Regions from separate parts of the Homo sapiens genome. Here regions 1 and 3 are each linked to region 2. Evidence: promoter capture Hi-C in 16 types of primary human blood cells and fetal thymus (Javierre and others, 2016). All regions are on one chromosome and are shown on one strand. Each heading gives the region's core, a stretch centred on a gene start or on the middle of the fragment in contact. The rest is flanking DNA. Distances are from core to core; before and after follow the strand shown.

The links. The method cuts DNA at HindIII sites, captures the fragments that hold promoters and counts their contacts. A CHiCAGO score of 5 or more calls a contact.
Region 1: a fragment that was not itself captured here is called in contact with the fragment with the promoter of XIRP1 in region 2 in 2 of 17 cell types (total B cells and naive B cells); the score reaches 5.6 in total B cells.
Region 3: a contact is called between a fragment that was not itself captured here and the fragment with the promoter of XIRP1 in region 2, in 1 of 17 cell types (activated CD4 T cells). The highest score is 7.9, in activated CD4 T cells.

Annotation. Positions count from the first base shown.
Region 1 is chr3:39,248,278-39,250,977 of GRCh38, forward strand. All of the region lies in intron 2 of LOC102724104 (a long non-coding RNA gene), which reads left to right. Among named protein-coding and RNA genes, the nearest start is that of CX3CR1, 30 kb to the right of the region's middle. The HindIII fragment of the contact is 9,853 bases long and covers 1-2,700 here.
Region 2 is chr3:39,191,281-39,193,980 of GRCh38, forward strand. XIRP1 (xin actin binding repeat containing 1) reads right to left here and starts at 1,315. Exons shown (of 2, transcript NM_194293.4): 1 at 1,166-1,315. RefSeq lists an enhancer at 86-1,075. The HindIII fragment of the contact is 686 bases long and covers 820-1,505 here.
Region 3 is chr3:39,140,586-39,143,285 of GRCh38, forward strand. CSRNP1 (cysteine and serine rich nuclear protein 1) reads right to left here. Exons shown (of 5, transcript NM_033027.4): 5 at 1,270-2,700. The coding sequence ends at 2,470. Among named protein-coding and RNA genes, the nearest start is that of MIR6822, 3.7 kb to the left of the region's middle. The HindIII fragment of the contact is 8,062 bases long and covers 1-2,700 here.

The DNA.
Region 1 (2,700 bases), core at 122-2,621, 57 kb after region 2:
GACATTTCCAAATTAAAAACAGCTTCGTGGGCCGGGCGCAGTGGCTCACGCCTGTAATCCTAGCACTTTTGGAGGCCAAGACGGGCGGATCACGAGGTCAGGAGACCCAGACCATCCTGGCTAATACGGTGAAACCCTGTCTCTACTAAAAATACAAAAAAATTAGCCGGGCGTGGTGGTGGGCACCTGTAGTCCCAGCTACTCGGGAGGCTGAGGCAGGAGAATGGCGTGAACCCTGGAGGCGGAGCTTGCAGTGAGCCGAGATCGCGCCACTGCACTCCAGCCTGGGCCACAGAGTGAGACTCCCTCTCAAAAAAAAAAAAAAGAAAGAAAAGAAAGACAAAAACAAAAAACAAAAAACAGCTTCATGGAAAGAGTGTGGCTGGGTAGTAATGTGGTACTATGTTCAAATCCCAGCCTGGGCCACTTTCTACTGCTAGGACATACGTAACAATGATCACCCTCACCACTACCACAAACAGTGTGCGTGGAATTTGTGCCATGTGCCAGGTCCAGGTCTAAGAAGTTCTCAAATACTAATTCATTTAATTCTTACACTGTGAAGTTAGCCGTTATTATCACTCTCATTCTACAGAGGAAGAAACTGAGACCAAAAAGTGTGAAGAGCTTGCCCAATGTCTCACAGCTGGTGGGTGGAATGACTGGGATTTAAACCAGGCAGTGTCCTTGGGAGCTCCCACCTGTCACCACTGCACCATAGGCTCTTTCAGATGGACGTGGGCTGACTTTCCAGAACTGGAATCTTGTAACTTGGGCCTACTATTAAATTTCTGTCTGGATTCATCAGGCACCCAACTTAGCCATCATGGCCATGCCATCAGATGTGGCTTTTAAGGATAAGAGTTATGGTAAAGGCAACTGGCTGGTGGTTGGGTTTTGAGAAGAGGCCAGTCCATGGACATATTGATCTTTAATGCCCTCAAGCAAAGCATGTACATAGTTTACCAAGAGTGGTTACCCTTATGATTGGACCATTGCAGATGTGGTATCTGTAAGGGCAACTTTTGAAGGAATCAATCCCAGTCCACAAAATGAGAGATGCTTTATAAGGGATGAAATAAAGTTTCATTGAATTTAGTTCTGGGTGGCAGGTAGGTCTGCTAGCAAGTTCCGAAAGACCAGCCGTTTTCTTTGAGTTATATGCGCCTGAAACTCCTCCTCGTAAACATCTGAGGCTCACTCACACCTCAGTGATGAACTGCCACCCTCCTCCACTGAGAGCAGGAAGAGAGCACCCAGAGTGGATACCATGACAGCTCAGCCAAACAGGCTCTCTGCCAGGAGGGCTGAGGCAGGAACCCGTCACATAGACACTCTCCAGGAATGAACTCAGGAAAGATCATGCACTTGACTTGGTCAACCTGAAGTCATACCCTAAAACCTCTTTGTTAGCCTCTTGCAGGTAACAGCCACCACAATGGTGTGACCCGAATGATGCTGTGACTAATTTCTCAGACTTTCAGGACTGCCCTGTGGCTGGGTACCTATCACCAAAAGCCATAAAGGGCTGCAGACAACATTGCTAAGATTACTTTAGCACAATGCCTGTATTCAGCAGACACACACAGATGGTAGTTCCTTTCTTTGAGTCAGTTTGTGCTGGGATGCTGACATTTCCCCAGACGATGCCACCCTTTTGGGTGTGCATAATTTCCTAGACTGTCTCATCCTGGGCCATGTTCCTTGAATTAGAAATAGAAGGGAGGGGGTCAGGTCATCCTTCAGGGTGCACAGCTCCTCTCGTGTCCCATCAAGGGTAGCAGTGTCCCTGCTGGAATAGCCCCTCTTAGTCCTCTCCTCTTAGAGCCTCGGAAACTTAATTTCAGAATAAGACATGGCTTCTTCTATTCATTTTTAGAAAGGTGCTATTTGGATTTTGCACATAGCTGTGAAAGTAAAAACAGGATTTATAATGCTGGAGATTGAGGAAGAGTTTTGCAACTCAAACCTCAAAGGAGAAGTATTGGCTTCCTCAGCTTCCCCCTGACAAGGGAGATTAATGTCATTCCACTATGCTAGTGACTAGCCAGCAGAGGGAATTAAAATAGATCTTTGTTGTGCCGGGCAGGAGGAACAAATGTTGGAAGCTCCTAGAGCTGCTCTCTTCTCAGCTCTCTTCTCTGCTCTCTTCTCTCTTTAGGAGCTGACAGGTGAAGGCTGGATGCTGATTAGCAAGGGCTTCCTAGCCTCCTGTGGGAAGTAAGCCAGGGTGGAAGCTCAGGCACAGGTCCTCTAAGTAGGGGGGATGGCTGTGGTTCTGAGGGAGACTCCTGCTTGGCCCACACTTCCTGAAGGTTCAGTGTGGGGAAGCAGAGGCATATGGAGGCATCAGCCTCGGGCCTTCCCTCACTCACATTTAGGGCTGCACACGGTGCCCCACCCCACCCATCACCCACCCCCCCTGCCCAATGCCATTTCTCCCCTCCGCCTACCCCTCTGTGGCCTTTCCCCTTCCTGGAAGGGGACTGTGGCTGGAGGGCAGATCTGAGAGGAGACCTAAAAAGAAAGAAAATAGGAAGAAAACGAGGGGGAAAATAATAAAAACAGGAGGCTTATTGAAGGAGGGAGGAGCAGGGGAGAGTGGGAGCATGGGGAGCAGACAGTTTGTTCCAGCAGGCTGGATGTTGGGAGGAATATGATGGGGGCTCAAAATAAATAAGACTAGCTCTATTCTCAACA
Region 2 (2,700 bases), core at 65-2,564:
CCTGTCTCCACCTCTACTCCATCCTGTCACCACCAGGGTGGCCTGAGCAGATGGTGTGTGCACACCATCAGCTTCACCCCACCCCCGCCCCCAGGAATTTCCAGAATCTCTGCTAAGGCCACAGACAGTTATTATCATGGAGTCCAGGGATGTCAGGCCTAAGGACCCTCAGAGGTCACTCAATCTAAACCCCTTATTGTTCAAATAGGGAAACAGAGGCCCAAAGAGGGGAAAGGAGCTGTCCAAGGAGGCTCAGCAAGGCAGTAGCAAAGCCTGAAGCATGTCTCCTGACTCCTGGCCTTCCCACCACCATCTTTGCCTGGCTTGAGACTGCTGGGACAAGTGTAGAGTCAGGACAGAATTCATAACTGGGACCAGACTTACGTGGGGTGAGCCCCAAGAACTGTCCTAGAGCTTGGTCTCCTAGGGCTGGGCCAGCCTCTCAGGATGGTCCCCCTGCTGTCCTCGGGTCACCTCCTCCTTGGCCCAGCTGGCTCCATATGTCTTTACATCTGGGCAAATTCAGATCTGGTCTCCCTCCCGTGAGCCCCCCAAATCTGCCCTGGGGGCTTTCCCACTGGGCAAGACTATGGACATGGGCAGAGTCCGAATTCCACCCCAGGTTTTAGGCTATGATATGTAGGGAGCTGGGCTCCGGCCAGCCCCTGGGAGCTATCCCTGGGCCAGATATGCCAAGAGTGTCATCCACAACAACTAGGCATGGGGCTTGTTCTAGCAATGCACACTCAGGCCTACTTACAGCCCCCTGCCCCCACCTCTCTCCTGTTCCTCCTTCCTCCAGATCCTGGGCCTGCCTGAAGCTTCCCTGGGAGGAAGCCCTGAAGCCTGAGGCACTCCATACCTGTATTTTAAAAATCACAACTCCAGGCCTTTCTGGATCATGCCAGCCTGGCAGGAGCCTATCCTTTCTGCTAGCTTCAGGCCTGTGGCAGCCACTCTGAGAGCTCCCATGGGGCTCACACTGTCTTTACCTCCTTTGTGGGTTCTTTATGTCTGAGACTTCCACTCACCTCCTCCCATGCATGCCCCTCAATCTCCTTCCCCTACTCAGAGCCATTCCTAATACGTCCATTTCAGAAGGAGAGGGGATCCCAGCTGTGAAAGCCAGCCTTGCTGTGGAAGGATGGAGAGGTAGGTTACTCACCAAGGGTCTCTCTTGGCTGATGGGGTGTTTGTGGTCTGTAGCAGCTGTGGTCTCAGGGTTCGTCGTTCCTCTGGAGGTTCTTGTTCAAATTGGTTCTGTTCTGCTGGCTCCAACAGACACCTTCTTGCTGCCCTGGCTCCAGGTCTCTGTCCCCTGCCAGCCCCAGCAGCTGCCTTTATCTTGCTGGCTAGTGGGTGGGCCGTGGTGGGGGCGGGTGGGAGAGGCTATGTTCCGAGTATTAAGTGGTTCGGTTATTTTTAGGTCTTGTGGAAGTCACTCTTCCATCCTGGGGAATCAGTTACATGTCCTTTGGGCTGGGGAGGGGAAACAGAGGGGGAGAAGCTTCATTCATCCAAAGTCTGATCTGGGGATTGGGGTCAGTGACTCAGCTGGGTTGTGAGGTTGGGGGTGTCCCAGACTATTTTGAGAGAGTGACTAAGAAGAGGCATCTGACACCTTGGACAGCTTGCTCCCGTCTTGTGAGCCCCCATCATTCTACTCTGGCCCTGCCTCTGACTCTTCCTGACGTGTCTCCACCCACCGTGCCAGGAGACTGGAGGTCTCCTGAGGGCAGGCTGGGCACCTCCTCCTCTGTTCTGAGCCTGGATACCTCTGAGTGTGATGCTCAGCTCTCTTTCTTCCCCATTCCCTTCTGCACTAAAGAGTTCCTTCTTTCTTATCCATTCCACCCTGTGCCCCACAGCACAGGTCAACACAGCCCCGATGAAGCTGGATTTGGGGGGAAGACATCTGAATGACCAGGCCCAGCTCTTCACTGGGCCGAGATTGGCCAGGCCCAGCTCCTCCTTTGCACCACTACACCCAGTTAATTTTTGTATTTTTAGTAGAGATGGGGTTTCACCATGTTGGCCAGGCTGGTCTCGAACTCCTGACCTCAGGTAATCCACCTGCCTCGGCCTCCCAATGAATGAATTCCACAGCAGGACTCTATGGTTTTCATTCCAGATTATCTGAGTCCTTTCTTCTCGACTCTTCCCTCTGACTCAGGGCCCAGGCTTTCTGGGAATGGAGGGGAGGGGAAGGGCGGCATGCAGGGAGCTGACCGTGGGGTTATTTCTGACCCTGGAGTCATCAGCTTCCCAGTCACAGATGGAGTGGCGGCGGGGGTGGGGGGGTCACACCTGCCTCCTCCTTTGCTTACCAGGGCGTGAGGGGCCCAGGAGGCCCAAGAGATCCTGGCAGTCAGACCAGTGTGGTGAAGGATGTCAGGGGACCATCTGCAAAAAACTCGAAAGAGGTGTTTTGTCCTAGGTGGGCCTGGCCCAGGCTCCATGCCTGTGGGTATGCAGGTGCATTCTGTGGCCTGGCACATGAGGTCTTCCTTCTGACTCCCCAAATGCCCTCTGGTACCAGGGGGTGATGCCAGACATTGCTCACTTTTTCCATGTAGTCAATGTCAGTCCTGCAGCGTCAGCTGGGATGGGGGTAAGGACATCTGGGAACCCCCTCTTCCTGGTCTCCCTCCCTCTTGTCTCTTCCCCTGCTCTTTTCTAGCCCTCTGCCTGTCCCCCAGG
Region 3 (2,700 bases), core at 163-2,662, 51 kb before region 2:
TGTGCTTGCTGAAGTAATCGCTACAGAAGGGTGTCTAGGCACCAGTGAAGAAGAGACAGGACAACTCAATGTACCAGGGTACTCTAACCTGAGAAGCCTATTCCTAGTTAAGCTGGTTACAGGGACATACTGCCGCACCATAGGCCAGACTCCAAACTATGAGTCCTCTAATGGCACTGATATGGCCATGTGGTCATGACCATGCATGTCCAGAGGCAAGAGACAGATACCTGAAGGGTGACAGGACAGGCAAAAAAAGGATTAAACATTCAGAGAAAGAATGGCAGAAACATGAAAATCAATGCAAGTTGCAAACATACACAGGACTTGCATGTTCCAGGCACTCTTTAAGGGCTTTGTAAATATGAAATAAACAAGTTTATGAGGTGAGTAGTGTTACTGTTTGCATGTAGTATTGAGGACACCCAGGCACAGAGGGAGTAATTTGCACAAATCACCTCACTAGGTAGCAGAAAATCTGAGATTCAAGCCCAGCATTCTGGCTCTGTGCTCTTACCAGTTAAGCCAAAGAGATGAGTGAGCCCAGTACAGACCAAGGCAGAGAATTAGAGCAAGGAGACCCAAATCAGTTCTCCTCTGGCGGTTCCTCCTTCCAGCTCTTGTACAAATCACTATCATTCCTAAGGGGGAAGTCAACCTTTCTCAGGCCCCCAGACTGGGGCTCCCCAGAGCAGGGTGTGGCCTACTCCTCTGGCCTGCTGCCCAGCTGAGCTGCCAGGGACAGGTCAGACAGGTCTGGCTGGTGCAGAGGGATGAGGTTCTGCAGCTTCCCCCTGCCCTTTCCGCTGCCCCCCTGCTCAAGTCCCCAGGGACCACAGCTGCTACGTAAGGCCATCACCAGGCCTTGACCAGGCACATGCCCTTACCCTGCCTCCACCCAGGTTGGTGAATTCACCCTCAGGACAAGGCCTCAGCTCAGTGTGGGTGTGTAGGAAGAAGGGTGCCCTTACCCATCCCCAGCAGATAGCCCCATGTCAGAAGACCCTGGTGCTGCTCCTCCCCACCACCCCAGGTCACCACTGTAGAGGAACAGGTTACTCCAAAGGAAAAACTGCTCTATCTGCCTGGCCAGCCTCTCAGCTGGCTTCCTGCCTCCAACTTGACTGGCTTGCCTGGAAAGAGGCCCAATATGCTGGGTGTGCCTACTCCTACCCCTCAACACAGCCTGTGTCCATACTCCCCTCTGCAGGGCTTGTCCCCCATCCCCTTTGCCCCTGCTTCCCACCCCACAAATACATACCACATTGCTAAAAATAAAGCCTCTTTATTGGTACCTGTAAGCTCAGGTACAAGGTGTTCCCACAAGCACACAGGCTGGCAAGGCCTCCTGGGCAAGGGGCAGGCCCAGAGCCTGCGTTTCTTGGCACAGACACAGAGAGAAATGGAATAAATTATAGTTCTGACACTCAGGGACAATGTAGAAATTATGATGCAAAATTAAACATTAGCAAACAAAGGGTATAAAAACCCTCAGGAGCCACCCCTCGCCAACTGGCCTCAGGGCATGGGCAGGTGGGCCACGCTGAAGTGCAGTGCCCAGAAAGCCCTGAGATAATAGTCTGGGGCATGGTTCGCGCCCCGAGGTAGGCCCTTTGCCCTCTCTGGGCTTCCTGTTTCCTCCTTCCCCCTCCTACATCCCTGGGCCTGGAATAAAGGCTGTGGCCTTTGGGAAGGGGGAAGATGGAACAGAGGGCAGGAAGTGGAGGGGGCAGGGTGGGGCAGAAGGGAGTTTTGGTCACAGCTGTTCAGCCCAGGCTCTCCCCCTGCCTAGATGATGTCCTTGGCCAGCACCTGCCCACAGAGCCATCTAGGAGCCAGGCAGCAGACATAGATCACAGAGCTCAAATCCACACCTAGTCTGCACCAAAGCCCAGGCAGGGCAAGGTGTAGGACTACAAGGCAAAAGGGGCTCTTGAGGGCCTGTGCCCACCCCACCCCTGGCATTACCCACCAGCCAAAGAAGTGCAACCAAAGCCTCCTCAATCTCCAAATAAATTATGGAAATAAATTATAGTCTTCACAGTCCAGTGGATTTAGCCACCCATGGGTCTAGGGCTCAGGGTGGCAGAAGCCACCTGATTTCAGCCCTGTCTCACCGTCTTTGGGCTAAGGAACATCACGCAAAGACCGAAAAGTGGTCTGCCAAGCTCCAGAGGAGCCACATTTTCTCCTCTTCCAGGCTCACGTTGTGGAGATAGAAGAGCAAGCTGTGGGTGTGGGGGGCCGGGCAGCTGAAAGGGGAAGCCCCCTCCCCCCAGTCCTCTCTTCAGCACAGAAAAGTTAAAACAAATAAATAAATCCAGAGAATTGTTTGAAAACCAGGAGTGTGCACATGGCACCTGTGGGTGAGCCAGCCAGTGGGAGACTGTTACGCAGACTCTGGGGAGCCCCATAATTACAAGAAAGCAGCAACAGGTCTCTTGGGGCTGGGAAAAGACATCCTGGTCCTCACACCGGCACAGGCTCCATTAGAGATGCTGGGACAGTGTCCTCAAACTGGCTGTCAATAAAGGGATCTAGGGCTTCGGCGGCTGGCTCGGAGAAGCCCATGAGGGACTCCAGGAAGCAACTGCTGGCATCCCCAGGTGGAGACAGGCCAGGCAGGGGGAAGTGAGGTGCCTCGATGTTGTCCAGGCTGTCAGACACCTTCTGTGATGTGTAGTGAGGCCCCAGACTATA